3 separate regions of the Homo sapiens genome follow, and all the other regions are linked to region 2. Evidence: promoter capture Hi-C in human tissues and cell types (Jung and others, 2019). All regions are on one chromosome and are shown on one strand. The core of a region is centred on a gene start or on the middle of the fragment in contact, and the rest is flanking DNA. Distances in the headings are between cores, read along the strand shown.

Region 1 (3,413 bases), core at 176-2,675, 33 kb after region 2:
AGCTTCACTAGGGCCTTCATCCGTGAGCAGGATTCCCGTCTGTTCTCTCCCCAGGAGCAGAGCTCAGTAGCCTCTGACAAAGGGACTTCTCAGCCAATGATGCGGGAGTAGAGGCCTAGCAGGCTGGAGGGCAGTGGGGAGGAGGAGCTGCAGGGCATCCTGCAGCCAGAGAGCACCCCCTGGGTGAACAGGTGACCCAATCTGCCTTCCACAGGAATCACCAGGAAAGGTGAGGCCAGGAAGGATAGAGACGCTTCTTGCACACCTGAGTGGGGAGATGCGTCTGCATTGGGACCAAATCTGAAGTTACCTGGGCCCCTGGGCCACCTGCTCTGGGCACCCAGCACTAGCACCATTGTGCCCAGGGCAGGAAAGCCACAGGATGAATGTGCCCCACCTTCCTAGAGCAGCAATTTGGCTCAAAGAATGTGAGGAAAATATTATTTTCACATTAAACAGTATGATGAAGTAGAATGTAAGATGCCTGTGTGGATATTCAATAAACGGAAGACTTGCGATCCCACTGGTGCTCTGGGTTGGCTGTTTTGAGCCAAGCCCACGCCCACACACAAGCCTTCAGGGGAATGTGGTGTGGCTCCTTCAGGTGCCTCTCTGGTGGAAAAGTCTGAGGAAGATCACAGGCTTCGTTAACACCCGCAGTCCCGAGGATGGCTCTGCAACAGGATCTGCTGCTGGGAACGAACAGCAGTGTGTGGAAGGGGCCCCCAGGCCACACAGGTGTCACCTCAAGGAGCAGCTCCCGGTCACCCACAGCACTGAGAGGTGGTGGAAGTGTTGGTAGTGTCTTTCACTGGTGGAAGGTGACCTCTCCTGGAGCTGGTCTAGGCTCCCAGCAGGTCGTTCCTGTCACCTATCCTGCCATGGCAGCGCAAGTCAGTTCTCTCTAGCCGGCAGCTCCCATTGGGGATTGCAGCCAAGGAGAGTCCAGGTGGACTTTAGTCAGCCAGCAGTGGAGAGGAGACAGGAGAGAAGCCCCTCCTTGCACAGTTGACTTGGGCTCTGGTTTTGCTGGCAGTGCCCAGTTCTGGCACCTTTGCCCCCTGGTCAATGAGTACCAGGGTGGCTCTGGGTCAGAACAGTGACCAAAGGGCTGGGTGGGAGTGGACAGGTAGTGGGAGGGGCAGTGAGAGATGCAGGAAAGGGCTGTAGCCCTTTGTGGTCTGACTGAGAGAAGGAGAAAGGAACGAAGAGCAAGCACAAGCACGGGGGAGAAATGAGGGACTTTCTGTGTCGTCATCTTTTCCTGGTGTGAGGAGAGACCCTACCAGGCGGACCCAGGCCATCTGCTCTGCTCTAGTCCGTGGGCCCAATAGGACCTCTGCAGAGGTACCCAATGGCCCATGGCTACAGTGGACCTGGTACAGAAGAAAGAGAGCTGTACCCACTCCTCAGGAAGCCCCAGTAGAAGGGATAGAACGAAGATACAGCCCCGTCCTCAGGGCCCTAGTCTGAGGGGAGACGCAGCCCCGTCCTCAGGGAGCCCCAGTCTGAGGGGAGACGCAGCCCTCTCCTCAGGGAACCCTAGTCTGAGGGGAGACGCAGCCCTCTCCTCAGGGAACCCTAGTCTGAGGGGAGACGCAGCCCCGTCCTCAGGGAGCCCCAGTCTGAGGGGAGACGCAGCCCTCTCCTCAGGGAACCCTAGTCTGAGGGGAGACGCAGCCCCGTCCTCAGGGAGCCCCAGTCTGAGGGGAGACGCAGCCCTCTCCTCAGGGAACCCTAGTCTGAGGGGAGTGGTCTCCTTAGGTCCCTGCAAAGGCCCTTGCCTCCCTCACCACCTGTACTTCTGTGGCTTTGCTCCAAATTCATATAAACTGAGATGGGAAATCCTAGGAACTGAAACACTGTTAATCACCCTTTATTATTGCCCTTCCCTGGGTGACTCAGCCGTAGGAAAATCACAGCTCCTGAAGTGAACCCGGAAAGAAAACTGAAAGGGAGAGTGATGAGTGAGAGTCAGCTACTGCCACAGCCTTGGCAGCCACATAGCCTTGTCCCCAGAGGTTGCTGCTCTCAGCTGGTCACAGGCAGCTCCTGTACGGACAGAGGCAATGGGGTGGGTCTGGGCCAGGGGACGCCCAGTCCCCAGGGAGCCCCTGCAGCAGGGCTGGCCCTAGATCCATGCAGGGGCCAATGCACAGTGGTGAAAGCCTGGGGTGATCTCAGGGCCAGTGATTTGCTGTCCAAGCCTCTGACTCCTGCCCTTCCTGACTCAACCACATCCGGTTTGGGCTCTTGCAGGCTCCCACCTGGAACGCCCTCTCTTCCCTCCTGCGTGCCACACCCCGCTCTCTGGCAGCCCCTGATGTCCTCCTCAGAGCTGTCCTCACACCCTCTGTCTCAGCCCTTCTGGGTACTTGCTGTCACCTGACTGACTTGGGGTATGTGGGGTCTTTTGTCTTTTCTTCTCACTTGGACCCTGAAGCCTCAAGAACAGGTGCTTCCTGCAACAGAATGTGCTCAGCCCTTAGGAAAACCTGAATGAAGGAAGGAAGAAGGAAAACCAGAACCCAAACTTTTAGTTTTCTTGGCAGAACCAGAGATTGGGGGCCATGAAATGCTACGGGACACTGACCTGGCTGCCTTTCCCTAGGAGTGTGAGAGGACGAAACTTCTCCAAGCTAAAGGGGGCTTAGAAATCACTTGAAAACAAGCTCTTTTGAGGGGAAGGACCGGCCAAGGCCACCCTGCTTGCCAGCAGCAGAGCGAATGCTCATGCCGGGGTCTGCTGCCTCACTCCCTCTGCCTGACCCTCCACCCTTGTACCTGGACCCTGGGCTTTGGGCCAGGCTGAAACCCAGAGCAAGACATACTGTTCTGTGCTACTCCAGTGGGGCGAGGCGGGCAAGGCAGCCATGGCAGTGGCTGACCTGCTCCACCCACAGTGGGCACATTTCATCACCATGAGGGCTGGTAGCTTCTGTGGCCCAGGGAAAGCTATGCTTTGCAAACACTGAGCTACCTGGATCCCCATCCTGGTTCTTATGCAAGCACTCGGAACATTCCAGCCCCAGCCAGTGGTGAGAGCACAGCTGCCTGGATACCCTTCTCCTGCCAAGGCAACTCCTGGGGTCACTGTAGCCTGAGGTCCTGGCATGGGCTGCTCAGGAGGGGTCCTGCCCAGTTTTTCCTACTGCCAATGGCAGCAGTGTTTCCTACTGCTGATGGCAACGGTGTTTGGAGATAATCATAAAAATTATGATTCTAGGTTACTCTACCTGGCACTTCACAAACATTTTATCACCTAGTCCTCTTATGAACCCAATGAGGTAGCTACTGTTATTATCCCCATCTTTCAGGAGAAAGGCATTGGGGCCTGAAAGGGGCAGAGACCTGCCCAGCTGGCACAGCCAGCGTGTGGTGGAGTCGGAACTGCCCAGCTCCAGACCCTTGTT
Region 2 (2,954 bases), core at 1-2,500:
GAATGGCTGGCAGGGAGCATCAAAGAGAGGGGAGACCTGGGCAGAGACTTTGGAACAATCTTAGTGAAAAGAGGATCTCTGCCCTCAGGAAGCTCTCAGCCGAGGGGCAGGCGAGCTGCCTCTCAAAGCTCGCCAGCTCCCCTTGCCTAGAAGTCCAGGGCTGTCTGTGAACAAAGCTTAGGACCTCTTGGGTGTCCTACCCACTTTCCTGAACATGGCCTCCCCTGACCCTCACAGGCCACCCCCTTAACTTCATCACTCCCTCTGGGCTCCTGCCTTCTCAAGAGCCTTTCCAAACACCCCATGGGAAGCCAGAGAGCCAGCAGATCCCAGGATCCTTCCAGAAAGTGAGCTCCATGAACGTCTGGCCTCTCTCAGGAATGCATTCTCCAGGTCTGGCCTTTCCCCTGCCAGACTGCAACATCCCTGACCAGGAGAGATTTAGACCACTCCATCCCGGGGCCTGGAAATTTTGGCCTTTGCCTCTCCCATCATCCAACAGCAAGTGGGCTCCTATGTGGCTGGGTTCCTCTGCACAGGTCTGAGGCAAGGCTGTGGAGCCAAGGCGGCTCCAGGCAGGAGACCCAGGAGAGGCTCTACAGCAGCAAGAGGAGTCCAAGTCACACCCCAGGACTTCCCCATATCCAAGAAAGGACTGGGAAGCTGAGGACCCACGGACTCTTCACACAGCCTAGACGCTTCCTCCACTCCAGGTAGAGGGATTTCGGGGGCCTTCTCAGAAGCAAGGAGTGGACAAGCCTCTTGGTTAAGGCTCCTCTTACCTCCCAAGCTCATGGACAAGTGGCAATCAGCTGGGGTCCCTCTTTTGGGGTACAAAGGAAAGGACAGAGGTGTGGGAGACCCAAGGTGGTCTTGAGATTGACAGACAGCAAGTCCTTGGAGATAGCCCCCGAGTCCAAGAACTTAGGCAGGGGCCCCAAGACAATAAAGTTGGTCTCTACTATCTCCTACCTCTGAGTGCGGTTTCCAGAAGTCCCTCCCATTGTTCATTTCAGGAAATGTGAGGGGGCTCTGGGCCCCTTCCCTCAGCGCCTGCGGTCACCCAGCAGCTTCCTCCTTCTCCCTGGCCTAGGCCTAGCAGGTGGGCACCCCGCACACATTTGAGGCGGGGCCAGATGCCCACAGTTCAGAGCCTCTTTTTGTCCCGGGGATTGGATCCCAGGGCTGGGTGGGGCCAGGCTGTCCCATTCCCCAACACTCCTCCTCCCCGGCGAAACCGGGCACCAGCAGGCGTTTGCGAGAGGAGATACGAGCTGGACGCCTGGCCCTTCCCTCCCACCGGGTCCTAGTCCACCGCTCCCGGCGCCGGCTCCCCGCCTCTCCCGCTATGTACCGACCGCGAGCCCGGGCGGCTCCCGAGGGCAGGGTCCGGGGCTGCGCGGTGCCCAGCACCGTGCTCCTGCTGCTCGCCTACCTGGCTTACCTGGCGCTGGGCACCGGCGTGTTCTGGACGCTGGAGGGCCGCGCGGCGCAGGACTCCAGCCGCAGCTTCCAGCGCGACAAGTGGGAGCTGTTGCAGAACTTCACGTGTCTGGACCGCCCGGCGCTGGACTCGCTGATCCGGGTCAGGGGCGAGCGGCGTCGGCCTGGGCGCGGCGGGATGGGGTAGCGGGCCGCGGGGTGTACGGGCCGAGGGCGAGGGGGCCTATTCAGGCCCTGGTCAGGTGTTTCCTGTTCAGGGAAACGTCGGGAACGCAGACGCGGGCACAACGGGGGTGGGCGTTCCTGCGCGGGGACCAGAGGGTTGGGGGACCTCGGAGGAAAAGACCCTCGCCCTAGCGAGAGGACTGCGAGAAGCCGGGCTGAGTCCTACTTGGGGGCGAGAGGGCATGCTGGCCCGGTGAGGAGGCAGATGCCTGGGGACACATCCAAATTTGGGGGCGAGGACGACTACGGCAGGGGGCGCGCGCGTAACCGGCCCCGCCCGGCCTGACCCGGGAAAGGGCGCGTTTGAGCCTGCTTGGGGGTTGGTCGCACCCGCACCCGTGGCAAAGAGCTAAACGCCACACCTGGCCGCTTCCAGAGGGGGAACCCGGGCGCACGTTTGCGAACTGGGAGCTGGGACGGCAGGGGCGCCGGGTCTAAGGATGCGCAGGAGCGAGGGCGCGGCCGTAGGAGCCTGGGGGAAGGCGCGTTTGTCCCGGAGGGTGGGTGGATTGGGCCCGAGGCGTGCTGGTCGGGGCCACCCTCAACGCAGAGAGGGGGCTCGACGTGCGCAGACCCGGGTTCGAGAGGAGGGCGGACGCAGGGCCGCTCTCTGGCTGAACCCGCTTTACTCCGAGTCTTCGGACACAAGGACTGGGCGCGCCGCCGCCGCGCGGCTGCCCAGAAAGGCTGAAGGCAGGGTTCAGGGGAGGACTCAGAGGTAAATCTGAGCAGAGGCTCCTCAAGGGTGGGGCCTAGCAGGGCGGAGGAGGCCGGGGAGGGTTCTAGGGGTGGCGCATCTTAGGACTGAAGCGACGCCAGACTGGCAGCTGCTCGATTTGGCGGAGGCATTGATGTCCTGGGTCCTGGCTTGGTTCCCCACCCCTTCGTCCAAGAGCCCAGAGTCCAGACAGCTGCGCGCCAGCCCAGAATCCCCGTCTTGCAGTCCTGGTGGCTTATCCGTCCAGAGTCTCCAGTCCAAAGCCAATCCCCGGAAGGTGGCAGGGAACCGTGCCAGGGTGGGAAGGGACCCAGCGCGGAGCGGAAGTGGTGTTCTGAACCCTCGGACTAGGCCGATTCGGTGAGGTCAGGAGGTAGCCAGGGCCAGGCCTATCTCTACTAAGGACCTAAAGTGATTCCTCCAGCTCCCCACCTGCGGACTTCTGCAAATACAGCCCGACTGCTGGGTCCTGGTGCTGAGGCTGCCTGCCATTACCCTTGCAAAGGTGGTGAACTTCGACTACAAGCAGCCTGGGCCCAGGGAGATGGCTATGATGGTGATTATAATA
Region 3 (3,390 bases), core at 590-3,089, 60 kb after region 2:
TGCCTCAGCCTCCCGAGTAGCTGGGACTACGGGCGCACACCACCATGCCCAGCTAATTTTTGTGTTTTTAGTAGAGACAGGGTTTCACCATGTTGCCCAAGAGTGGTCTCAATCTCTTGACCTCGTGATCTGCCCACCTCGGCCTCCCAAAGTGCTGGGATTACAGGCTTGAGCCACTGCGCCCAGCCGAACTCATGATTTTAAATTATACTTAGACTTTAAAATAGCTATAGATATCTGTGTGTTGTGTATGTATAATGTATGTGTATCTATGTATAGTTAATCTTTTTTTTTTTAAGACAGAGTCTCACTCTGCTGCCCAGACTGAAGTGCCGTGGCATGATCTCAGCTCACTGCAACCTCCACCTCCCAAGTTCAAGTGATTCTTCTGCCTCAGCTTCCCGAGTAGCTGGGATTACAGGCATGCACTACCACGCCCAGCTAGTTTTTGTATTTTTAGTAGAGACAGGGTTTCACCGTGTTGGCCAGGCTGGTCTCAAACTCCTGACCTCAGGTGATCTGCCCGCTTCAGCCTCCCAAAGTTCTGAGATTACAGGCATGAGCCACTGTGCCCGGCCAATTGATCTTCATTATTCAGGGATTCTGTATATATAAATTTGCCCTGTTGCTAAAATTTATCTGTAACTGCAAAATCAATACCCATGGCACTTTTGCAGTCATTCTTGCACATGTACAAAGCAGGGGAAAATATGAGTTGCCTGGTGTACATGTGGCCCCAGCTGAGGTTGAACAAGGCGACACTCTGCCTTCTCATTTCAGTGCTTTACTGTAAACAAGTGTCCTTTTTGTGGTCTATTTGGTGTCATATTTTTTCATTTTTGTACTTTTCCTTGGTGCTTTTGCTGTTGAAAATAGACCTCAACTACACTGCTGCAGAACTGTTTAGATTGCCTAAGCACAAGAAGGCTGTGATGTGTTCGTGGTGAAAGAATATACATGGTAGATAAGCTTTGTTCCAGTAGAAGTTATAGTGCTGGTGGCCATGAGTTCGATGTTCATGAATCAACCATGTATATTAAATGAGCTGTCTTCAAACCGAAACACACATAAAATGAGGTTCTGTATTGGTTGTTTGATGAAAATGTTGTGACCAGAGAGGCTCATGGAACCTAACCCTGTACTTGTCCTAGGAGCAATGTGTCAGTATTTGCCAATTCGTGTTGCCACTGAATTAGCAAATGATGGAAATTGGTTGTGTATGTATGTGTGTATGTGTGTGTATCCTAGCTCTAATCTTTGAGAGGGCCTAGAAGTAATGTCACCCCAATAACCACAAGCACACCAAGCTCTCAGATCTTGGTTTCTAAACATCACTCTTCACAAAAAGGAACCAGGGCTCCCTATTCCAGGGCTGAAGCAAGGAAAGTGCAAAAGAGCCTGGAACATTTTATCATGCCAGAAAGTAAGAAAACGCTCCAAGAATGATGGGGACAAGTCAAAGGACACAAGGGGCCAGCTTGAAGGGGGTCGGTTTGGCCCATTCTGGGACAATTTGACCACCAAAATAAACAATAATATTAACAGATTTCAACCACCTACGTAAAATAGGAATCCATGAGTCCATCCTGATATAAACAAACAAACAACTGGGAGAGAAAGGAAGGTTTTTTCTTATAGTAGAATGCCAACTACTAAATGGTAGAAGGAACTATAGAAATAGAAAAATCACCACTGGCAACCACCATACTGGTGTTTGATTCAGATGGGAGTTGTCAACAGATGTCAAAGCTGGTGCACAGAGGTTTGAAGAGGATTGGCATATTGGCATAATCTCACATTATCTCTCCACAAAATACTTATTAATTACAAAAGGGAGATGGGGACTCTGGTGGAGAAGCCTGGAAGACACCAACTTGACCAAGGGACAAAGGTCCAGAAACATTTCTGTGGTATTTATTGTCAAAACTGCATGTATGGCCTGCGTCTGGTCATGAGGAAACACCAAAGGAACTCAAGTTGAAGGTCATCCAATGGAATAAAAGGCCTGACCTTTTTAAGACTGCTAAGGATACAAAATGCAGGGAAAGACGAAGAAACTGTTGTAGATTGAAGAAGATGGGTGACACATGACAACTAAATGTAATGCATGGTCCTGGATTCCCTCCTGGACTTCTCCCCTCCCCCACCACCCCCCGTAAAATGGACATTCTTAGGACAATGTGCAACACTTGAACAGGATCTGTAGATTGAATGGTTTCCTGTGCCAAGGTCAATTCCCTAATTTGAAGAGCTGATGAAGAATTTAGGTAGGTGATTATTCTTATATTGATGGGCATCATGTCTGCATCTCAAATTCAGAAAAAGATGAATGGAAAGGCCAAGCGCAGTGGCTCATGCCTGTACTTCCAGCCCATAGGGAAATGGAAGCAGGAAGATTTGTTGAGGCCAGGGGTTCAAGACCAGCCTGGGCAACATCGTGAAAACCACCCCCATACACACACACAAAGAATTTTAAAAATTATTCAGTCATGGTGGCACATGCCTATAGTCTCGGCTACTCAGGAGGCTGAGGCTGGAATATCACTTGAGCCCAGGAGTTCAAGATTGCAGTAAGCTACAATTGCACCAATGCACTCCAGCCTGGGTGATAGAGTAAGGCACTGCCTCAGACAAAAAAAAAAAAGAAAAGAAAAAGATGAATGGGCGTATATAAAAAGAGAGGATGATAAAGTAGATGTGGTGAAATGTTCCAGAATCAGGGTGCAAGGCTGGTTCAACATACGCAAATCAATAAACGTAATCTATCACATAAATAGAGCTAAAGACAAAAACCACATGATTATCTCAATGGACACAGAAAAGGCCTTTGATAAAATTCAATATCCCTTCATGTTAAAAACTCTCAATAAACTAGGTATTGATGGAACATACCTCAAAATAATAAGAACTATTTATGGCAAACCCACAACCAGTATCATATTGAATGGGCAAAAGCTAGAAGCATTCCCTTTGAAAACAGGTACAAAACAAGGATGCTCTCTCTCAGCACTGCTATTCAACATAGTATTGGAAGTTCTGGCCAGGACAATCAGGCAAGAGAAAGAAATAAAGCGTATTCAAATAGGAAGCGAGGAAGTCAAGTTGTCTTCCTCTCTTTTGCAAGGAAGACAACAAGATTTTGCAAGAAAGACAACAAAGTTTGCAGACAACAAGATTTTATATTTAGAAAAACCCATCATCTCAGCCCCAAAACTTCTTGAACTGATAAGCAACTTCGGCAAAGTCTCAGGATACAAAATCAATGTGCAAAAATCACAAGCATTCCTTTACACCAACAATAGGCAAACAGAGAGCTAAATCATGAATGAACTCCCATTTGCAATCTCTACAAAGAGAATAAAATACCTAGGAATGCAGCTAGCAAGTAAT

What was found. The method cuts DNA at HindIII sites, captures the fragments that hold promoters and counts their contacts. A contact is called where the count stands out against the background at its distance.
Region 1: a contact is called between a fragment that was not itself captured here and the fragment with the promoter of KCNK17 in region 2, in 2 of the 25 tissues and cell types used here (small bowel and spleen).
Region 3: a fragment that was not itself captured here is called in contact with the fragment with the promoter of KCNK17 in region 2 in 1 of the 25 tissues and cell types used here (mesendoderm cells).

The regions. Positions count from the first base shown.
Region 1 is chr6:39,279,172-39,282,584 of GRCh38, reverse strand. No RefSeq gene overlaps it. Among named protein-coding and RNA genes, the nearest start is that of KCNK17, 34 kb to the left of the region's middle. The HindIII fragment of the contact is 5,777 bases long and covers 1-3,413 here.
Region 2 is chr6:39,312,715-39,315,668 of GRCh38, reverse strand. KCNK17 (potassium two pore domain channel subfamily K member 17) reads left to right here and starts at 1,250. Exons shown (of 5, transcript NM_031460.4): 1 at 1,250-1,585. The coding sequence starts at 1,349. It overlaps LOC105375047 (a long non-coding RNA gene), which reads right to left and starts at 1,713. Exons shown (of 3, transcript XR_926774.3): 1 at 1,445-1,713. It also overlaps a transcript of KCNK16 not described here. The HindIII fragment of the contact is 22,753 bases long and covers 1-2,954 here.
Region 3 is chr6:39,252,720-39,256,109 of GRCh38, reverse strand. No RefSeq gene overlaps it. Among named protein-coding and RNA genes, the nearest start is that of KCNK5, 25 kb to the right of the region's middle. The HindIII fragment of the contact is 9,224 bases long and covers 1-3,390 here.